Regions from separate parts of the Homo sapiens genome. Here regions 2 and 3 are each linked to region 1. Evidence: promoter capture Hi-C in human tissues and cell types (Jung and others, 2019). All regions are on one chromosome and are shown on one strand. The core of a region is centred on a gene start or on the middle of the fragment in contact, and the rest is flanking DNA. Distances in the headings are between cores, read along the strand shown. Region 1 holds the start of HSD17B3 (hydroxysteroid 17-beta dehydrogenase 3). Region 2 overlaps LOC105376156 (a long non-coding RNA gene). Region 3 has its middle 46 kb from the start of PTCH1.

Region 1 (2,947 bases), core at 175-2,674:
ACCCCCAGAAGGACATCTTCCCTCAGCATCCAGTGGCCTTTTAAAAGCATAATTCAGAGTATAGAACTCTGTTTCCTAAATCTGTGCAATGGCTTCTGGTTGCTCTGAAAGTCCACACTCACCCGTAGGGCATGGCTCCTCCCTCCTGCTCTGGCCTTTTCCTCCCTTACTCTCTGTGGCCAGTCCCTCTGCTGTGTTGTCCTAGTGTTTTTTTTTTTTTTGAGATGGAGTCTTGCTCTGTCGCCCAGACTGGAGTGCAGTGGCACAATCTCAGCTCACTGCAACTTCCACCTCCCAGGTTCAAGCGATTCTCCTGCCTCAGCCTCCGAAGTAGTTAAGATTACAGGCATGCTCCACCACACCCAGCTAATTATTGTATTTTTAGTAGGTCTCAATCTCCTGACCTTGTGATCCGCCTGCCTCGGCCTCCCAAAGTGCTGGGATTACAGGCGTGAGCCACCATGCCTGTCCTGTCCTAGTTCTTATTCCTCAAATACGTGGATTTTTCTCACTTCAGGCATTGTACTAGCCGTTCCATTAGCCTGGAGGGGGAAACTCATCTTTGCGGAGCTGGCTCCTTTTCATTCAAATTTCAACTAAAAATGCCACCTCTTCATGGAATTCCTTCCTGAACACCCTCTCTGAAGCATTCCCTGAGTAGCTACTCAAACACATCATTCAATAGTGCTTTTTCATAGCACTGATGTTATCTTTTTTTTTTTTTTGAGACAGAATCTCACTCTGTCACCCAGGCTGGAGTGCAATGGCGTGATCTTGGCTCACTGCAACCTCCGCCTCCCAAGTTCAAGTGATTCTCCTGCCTCAGCCTCCCAAGTAGCTGGGATTACAGGTGCCCACCACCAGGCCTGGCTAATTTTTGTATTTTAAGTAGAGATGAGGTTTCACCATGTTGGCCAGGCTGGTCTTGAACTCTTGACTTCATGTGACCCGCCTGCCTTGGCTTCCCAAAATGTTGGGATTATGGGCGTGAGCCACTGCCCCATCTGATGTTATCTTATTTATCTGCTCATCATCTGTCCCTGCTACCAGAATCTAAGCTCCAAACCAGAGAGACCCTCTGTGGTCACTATTAACTTCCTAATGCCTTCAAGAGGGGACTCCACCTGGTAGGCAGTCAATACATAGTGCTAAATGTATGAATAATTGCCTTGGATTCTGCATCCTTTTTAACTTTCCCAAATTCAGGGAGAGAACTGTGGGCTGCCATTTTATATTTGTCCAGGCTTTGTTTTTTTCCCTTCATGTCCACCTTTTACTTTTTCACCAGCTCCTCCACAGTAACAAAAGCCTTATTCAAAGGCCTGTGAGTCAGAGGATTATGTAAAGAAGTTACTTTAATCTAGATGCCCCTGACTTGATGGAACACGTCCAGTGACTCCTGGAAGAAGATCTGGAGGTCTCCAGAGCAGCGTGGTCCCAGGAGGCATACACAGAGAGCCACGGCCAGGGCTGAAACAGTCTGTTGAGTGCAGCCATGGGGGACGTCCTGGAACAGTTCTTCATCCTCACAGGGCTGCTGGTGTGCCTGGCCTGCCTGGCGAAGTGCGTGAGATTCTCCAGATGTGTTTTACTGAACTACTGGAAAGTTTTGCCAAAGTCTTTCTTGCGGTCAATGGGACAGTGGGCAGGTAAGGGAGTGTTCCATCTCATGTTTTTTTGCTGCTGTTGTTCCTGCTTGTTACTATTATTATTATTTTTGAGACAGACACTTGCTCTGTCACCCAGGCTGGAGTGCAATGGCGCGATCTTGGCTCACTGCAACCTCCGCTTCCCGGGTTTAAGCAATTCTCCTGCCTCAGCCTCCCAAGTAGCTGGGATTATAGGCGCCTGTCACCACACCTGGCTAATGGTGTTTTTTTTTTTTTTTTGAGACAGAGTCTCACTCTGTTGCCCGGGCTGGAGTGCAGTAGTGCGATCTCTGCTCACTGCAACCTCTGCCTCCTGGGTTCAAGCAATTCTCCTGCCTCGGCCTCCCAAGTAGCTGGGATTACAGGCACACACTACTACGGCTGGCTAATTTTTTGTATTTTAGTAGAGACAGGGTTCCCCCATGTTGGCCAGGCTGGTCTCGAACTCCTGACCTCATGATTTGCCCACTTTAGCCTCTCAAAGTGCTGAGATTACAGGCGTGAGCCACCGCACCCAGCCAACGTTTTGTATTTTTAGTAGAGACAGGGTTTCACCCTGTTGGCTAGGCTGGTCTCAAACTCTTGACCTTGTGATTCACCCGACTCGGCCTCCCCAACGGCTGGGATGACAGGCGTGAGCCACCGCACCCAGCCCCTGCTTATTATTATTTATGTCTCAAAAGGGATATTGCATTTTTTTCTCTTTGAGAGCAAAGAAGTAATTCCTTTGGGTAATTTTAATTGGGGGGATTAGAAAAGTGTGAGTGAAATTAGAATGGTCTGCAACACAAGCTGTAGGGCATTAGGGGAACACTAGGGCAGAAGGCTACCCAGCCCTTGCTAAGCACTTATCCTCTCAACCCCATTAGATGAGTTTTCTTCTTTTGGGAGTTTCCTGCTAATACAAATAATAAATAATGCAGAAATTTCTGCATCCTCATCTCTAAATTTACAAAAAGCCCAGGGTGCTTTCACTTTACTAAAAGGTGTTTCCAAATTTTGAAATCTAAATAATTTTAACTCATTGTATTAAAAAAAGGATCCAAGTGTTTTTAAGAAATGAAGGTGTTACAAAATCAAGGCAACGCATAACTCTATGGAGCCATGTTTTCAGGATGGTATGGAATGGAATCTGGGTCTGGCTGGTGTCAATTAATGCTGCCTCCCCATGGGATTTATCTACTGGAACGCCCATGCAGAACTTCAGCCCTATGACTGAAGTTAAGGTGAAGAGCATGAGGCCATGGTTTCAGCATCTCCTTGAATATCTGAAATGCTAAAGTCTTTGCAGGGCCTTA
Region 2 (2,947 bases), core at 230-2,729, 910 kb after region 1:
GCTTTTCTTTGATGAGAGACATTTTATTACGGCTTTGATCTCCTGATTCATTATTGGTTTGTGGATGTTTTCTATTTCTTCATTGTTCAATTTTGGTAAGTTGTATGTGTCCAGGAATTTATCCATTTTTCTAAGTTCCCTAGAATTTTTAAAAATTTGTTGGCATGTAGTTGTTCATAACAGTCTCTAATGATTCTATTTCTGTGGTCTCAGTTGTGTCTCCTTCTTTGTTTCTAATTTTATTTGGGTCTTCTCTCTTTTTTTCTTAATCTAGCTAAGGGTTTGTTGATTTTGTTTATTTTTTCAAAAAACCAACTTTTCATTTTATTGATCTGTATTTTTAAGTCTCAGTTTCATATATTTCTGCTCTGATCTTTATTATTTATTTCCTTCTACTAATTTAGGGTTTGGTTTTTTCTTTTTTTCTAGTTCCTTATGGCACATTTTAGGTTGTTTATTTAAAGTCTTTCTACTTTTTTGATATAGATATTTATTGCTATAAACTTCCCTCTTAGTACTGCTTTTGCTATATTCAATAGATTTGGTATGTTGTATTTCCTTTGTGATGTAGTTCAATAAATTTTTTAATTTTCTTCTTTATTTCTTTTCTCACCCATAGGTTGTTCAAGAGCATGTTGTTTAGTTTCCATGTGTTTTGTGGTTTTCAAGGTTCTTCTTGCTACTGATTTCTAGTTTTATTCCATTTTTGTTAGAAAAGACACTTGATATGATTTATATTTTTAAAAAATCTGTTGAGACTTGTCACATGGCCTAAGATATGATCTGTTCTGGAGAATGTTCCATGTCCTGATGAAAATAACGTGTATTCTGCAGCATTTGGGTGAAATGGTCTGTAAATGTCGCTTAGGCCTATTTGGTCTGCTATGTAGTTTAACTCTGATGCTTGAATTCATGCTTTTAAGTACTTTTTTGGAATTTGAGGATTTCCCTTACTTTTTGAAAATGTAACTATAAAGTCTTTAAAAAATAAGCATTTTTAGGGATTTTGTAGAGGAATGATTTTCAGGACATCTAGTCTACCTTATTGCTATTACTTCTGTACAAGATTTCTTGGATCATCCAAGTAATCTTTTTGTTTTGCGAGCCTGCCATACACATTGCAGCTTCCTAACCATAGCTCATTATGTCTTGTCTCTTTGGAATGCCATAACCATGTTCACTCACTCTCACCTCGAAGCTTGTCTAAGCATTGTTGTTTTGTTTTGTTTTTTTTGAGATGGAGTTTCACTCTTGTTGCCCAGGTTGGAGTGCAATGGCACGATCTCGACTCACCACAACCTCCACCTCCTGGTTTCAAGCGATTCTCCTGCCTCAGCCTCCCGAGTAGCTGGGATTACAGGCATGTGCCACTGTACCCGGCTGATTTTGTATTTTTAGTAGAGACAGGGTTTCTCCATGTTGGTCAGGCTGGTCTCGAACGCCCGACCTCAGGTGATCCGCCCACCTCGGCCTCCCAGAGTGCTGGGATTACAGGCATGAGCCACTGTGCCCAGCTAGCGTTGTTCTTTTTTAAGGGCTAGATCAAGTCCTGCTTCCTCCATAAAGTCTTTCCCTACAACTTTAGGTTTCCATAGGCGTTCCTGTTATACTTTGTGTAACCCAGTTATCACTTACCTGTGCTGTAATGCTGCTTATCATTTTCTTTAGTCACTACCAGTTTTGAGGGCTTCCTACATGTCAAGCACAGAGTCAAGTACTTTTCATGTATTATACCATTTAACCTTATAAAAACCCTGACAGGTGACTACAGCCAGCACCCAATTTTTTAAATGAGAAAATCCTAGTGTCAGAGAAGTTAAGGAACTTTCCCAAGGTCATATAGCTAGTAAATTAATGGAGGCCAGATTCATATCCAGGACCACTGGATTTCAAATTTCATTCTAATACCCACTAAACAAAACCACATTACACAAAACTAAACGTGTAAGTTTCACATTAAGTTTTCACAGTCATATAGTTTGTTCTCTAAGGGTAGAAAAAATACCTCATACATATTCTCTGCATCCAACACAAAATTATTTTCTCAACAAATATCAATTACTTGTTTATTAATCCGACATGTATTAAACCATCTACTGTGACAGACAGCATGCTAGACTTCATGTTGCAGAAAAAAAGCAGACAAAATCTCTGACCTTGAAGAGTTCAAAAGCCAATAGAGAGTCCTCCTTACCTGCAAGAGATACATTCCAAGACCCCCAGAGGATGCCTGAAACCACACATAGTACCAAACGCTATATATACTAGTTTTTTGGTCTGATAACCAAGAGGACTACCAAGTAACTAGTGGTCAGGCAGCATATGCTGAGTAGATATGCTGGATAAAGAAATGATTCACGTCCTGGGTGGGATGGAGCAGAAAGGGGCAAGATTTCATCATGCTACTCAGAACAGTGCAAAATTTAAAACTTATGAATTCTTTATTTATGGAATTTTCCATTTAATATTTTCAGACCACTGTTGACCACAAGTAACTGAAACTAACTTTCCAAGCAAAAGCATGGATAAGAGGAGACAACTGTAATAGGACTTCCAATTCCACCAAGATGAAGTAGCTCCTTTTCCCCCAGGTCCTCTCCTTTACAACTAAAACCCATGGACATAACACAACAAAATAAAAAAATGCTGACAAAAGAAATCAACCTATATACCTATAATCAACCTATAAGAAATGACCTATATAAATGGAGAGACATACTAATTCATGAATTGGAAGATTCAGTATAGTAAGCATGTCATTTCTTCCCAAATTGATCTACAGATGTAATGAAATTCCTATCAAAATCCCAACAAGGTTTTTTTATAGACAAAGGTAAGTTTATTGTAAAATTTATATGAAAAAAGCGCAGGCCCAAGAATAGCTAAAACAATCTGGATGAAGAAGAAGAAAGTGGGAGAAATCACTCTATTTGATTCATTAATTCAA
Region 3 (2,947 bases), core at 236-2,735, 750 kb after region 1:
GCAGGCATAACCTCTTAACACACTTTCCAAGGATCTCAATACTCAAAATGGGAAGAACTGCAACGTTGTGGGTGGTATCATGGAAAAAGCTAGGAGGAGAGAGAAAAAGATTTTCATCCCATTGTCTCTGCCAATAAGTAGTTCTGGTCCTTAGGCAATCTGCTTGGTCTTCAGTTTTCCTCATTTCTGTAAGGAAGTATTTGGATGTACCAACAATTTCTTCTAGCTCAAACATTCTGTAAACCTATGGATACATGTTCTTATCCATACTATCTTTTACATAAGACTACGTGAGCAAAAACTTGATCTCAGTACTTGACTGAACTACTTGTACCAGCCATCTTTTTAAAATCTGTCCCAGGCAGTATTAAATTTCCAACTGTGCCTGCTGGGCCAAAAGTCCCAGCAGCTCGCCCCAGAAGTACAGGCAATCAAGGAGTGTCACCTTCTTCAAGTGTGTGTATTCATCTGGGACCTCAACAAGTGCCTTACTTCTCTCCCGCCTCTTCCTTCGGTTATGAAAAAAGCAAACTCCACAGCATAACATAACACAACAGGCACAAGAAACGAGGGTGGGGAAATGTGAATAAGTCTGAAAAATCACAGCCAAAGAGAAAGACATCAAAGTCCTACAGAGTTCTTAGAGTTCACCCTCAAATTTGGCCCCCAAGTTTCTGGAAGCCAGAGAGGAGAAGGAAGCCTGGGGAAGAGCAGACCAGGTACTCAGTGACATCTCTGCAGTGCAGTCAGTGGGAGAAAGCAGCTGACTTATTTTTGTATTATTTCTCACAAAAGCTGTGGTACAGTCTGTCTGTCTCCCTATGGCTGGAAAGTCAGGTGACACCCAGTACTGGAGAAGTGAAGGAAGCAGGGAAGAGCATGTGGTGGGTGGGGCAGGTGCCACTTGCGTAGGGTGGCTGGGGAAGCTCAGATCAGGGGCATGTGAGCAGAGGTCTGCAGGAAGTAAGGGAGAAGCCCGGATACCTGGGGAAGAGCACTCCAGGTAAAGGGAAGAGCAAATGCACAGGTGCCGAGCTTGGTGTGTCTGAGGGACAGGAGGGAGGCCAGAGACTGGAGTAGGGCAGGTGGAGGAAATAGTGACAGGGGATGTGATTGGGGAGGAAGAGTCTCTGGGGTGGTGTGAAGGAGCAGATCCTGTGTGGCCAGCAAGGACTTTGGCTTTCACTGTAGGAGACATGGGGAGATATGTAGGCTTTGGAGGAGAGTTCCTGGTGTATGTAGCTGGAAATAATCACTACAGCTTCTTCCTCCTTCTGAAATACCCAGAAGCCTCAAAGAGAGAGAGCCATGACCCCTCCTCTGCCCGTGTCTGGGTCTTCACCATCCAACCTGAAGAGCTCCTAAGCTCTGCGAATGAGCACCTCCATACCTTTTCACACACATGCCTTGCCCTCGTCCTGGCTGCCTTAGTCCATTTGGGCTATATAACAAAAATGCCACAGACTCCATGATTTATAAAGGACAGAAATGTATTGCTCACGGTTCTGGAGTCTGGAAGTCCAAGATCAAGGCACTGGCAGAGCAGGTGTCTGGTGAGGGCAGCTCCTGCTTCCAAGATGGTGCCTTGTTGCTAGGTCCTCATACAACAAGAGGCAGAAGCACAAAAGACCTAGCTAGCTCCCTCCAGCCCTCTTACAAGGCACTAATTCCATCCCTGAAGACAGCCCTCATGGCCTGACCACCTCCTAAAGGCCTCACCTCTTAATACTTTTGTTTTGGGGACTGTTTCAACATGAATTTTGGAGACGACATGAACATTCAAACCATGGCATTGACCTTGGTTTCCAAGGCCGGATCCCCAGGAGGGCTAAGATAGTGGTTTTCAATTTGTCTTTGTGCCTTGTAGTCTGTGGGTTCCTCGGAGAGATTGTAGGAGCAATAGTCAGTGGATTCCAAGCATCCCACCATGGCTGCTTCAACAAGCCTGGTTCTGTTTCTACCTGTGTCAAAGCTTACATTTCCTATATATTTGAGTACTTTGTCACTTGGAAAGTGTCTTCCTAGAGAAAGGACTGGAAGGGTCTTCACCAGAGTGTTCTTGGTTATCACTGGTTACCATGGGCATAGGAGGTGTGATGGAAGAAGGGCGCAGGGGGTGAAGGCAAAGCTTATTCTTCTAGATTGTTTCAATTGTCTACAAGTCATTGTACAAGGCATAAATTTTGCTCATTTTAAAAAATGATATGAAAAAATTAAAACCTGCCAAGTCATTTTTCAGCTCTAGGATGTGAGCCTTCTGAGGTGGTTTCTGGTGGATGCTATTCAGTCTGGATAGAGAAGAGAAGGCTGGAAGGGAGTGGAAAAGAGGGAGGCTTTGCTGTTTGGGGACAGCCCCAAACGCTCTAAATATAATAAGAAAAGGCCAGCTTTGGTGAGTTCGTTAAGTGAGTCCAAAGGAAGCGTGTTGAACTGGATGGCTTTCAGCCCTAGATACAACCAAGCAGAAAACAGCAGCTTGAGAGGGTGCCTCTACCAGCTTCCCAGGGCTGCCAACCAATGACCACAGATCACCGAAGACCACAGACCTGGTGGACTAAACAACAGAAATGGGCCCTCTCACAGCTCTGGAGGCTGGAAGTCCAAGATCAAGGTGTGGGCAGGGCCATGCTCCCCACCAAGGCTTTAGAGGAGAATCTTTCCCTGCCTCTCCCAGCTGTGGGTAGCTCTGGGCATTGCTTGGTTTGTGACTCCAATCTCTGCCTGCCTCTCCACATGGCCTTCTCCTACTTTGTCCCCCCGACCCCCCGTGCCTCTTATAAAGACACTTGTCATTGGATCTAGGGCTCAGCCTAACTCCAGGATGATCTCCTCTCAAAAACCTTTACTTGATTTAATCCTCAAAAACCCTCTTTACAAATTAGGTTCCCGGACATGGACGTGTCTTCTGGAGAGCCACCACTCAACCCACTACAGCCCCCCAAATGAC

Evidence for each region. The method cuts DNA at HindIII sites, captures the fragments that hold promoters and counts their contacts. A contact is called where the count stands out against the background at its distance.
Region 2: a fragment that was not itself captured here is called in contact with the fragment with the promoter of HSD17B3 in region 1 in 1 of the 25 tissues and cell types used here (dorsolateral prefrontal cortex).
Region 3: a fragment that was not itself captured here is called in contact with the fragment with the promoter of HSD17B3 in region 1 in 1 of the 25 tissues and cell types used here (lymphoblastoid cells).

What each region holds. Positions count from the first base shown.
Region 1 is chr9:96,300,653-96,303,599 of GRCh38, reverse strand. HSD17B3 (hydroxysteroid 17-beta dehydrogenase 3) reads left to right here and starts at 1,424. Exons shown (of 11, transcript NM_000197.2): 1 at 1,424-1,649. The coding sequence starts at 1,496. SLC35D2-HSD17B3 (SLC35D2-HSD17B3 readthrough) reads left to right here. Exons shown (of 26, transcript NR_182427.1): 16 at 1,289-1,649. The HindIII fragment of the contact is 9,231 bases long and covers 1-2,947 here.
Region 2 is chr9:95,392,557-95,395,503 of GRCh38, reverse strand. All of the region lies in intron 2 of LOC105376156 (a long non-coding RNA gene), which reads left to right. Among named protein-coding and RNA genes, the nearest start is that of FANCC, 76 kb to the right of the region's middle. The HindIII fragment of the contact is 5,875 bases long and covers 1-2,947 here.
Region 3 is chr9:95,553,632-95,556,578 of GRCh38, reverse strand. No RefSeq gene overlaps it. Among named protein-coding and RNA genes, the nearest start is that of PTCH1, 46 kb to the right of the region's middle. RefSeq lists an enhancer at 2,766-2,947. The HindIII fragment of the contact is 5,995 bases long and covers 1-2,947 here.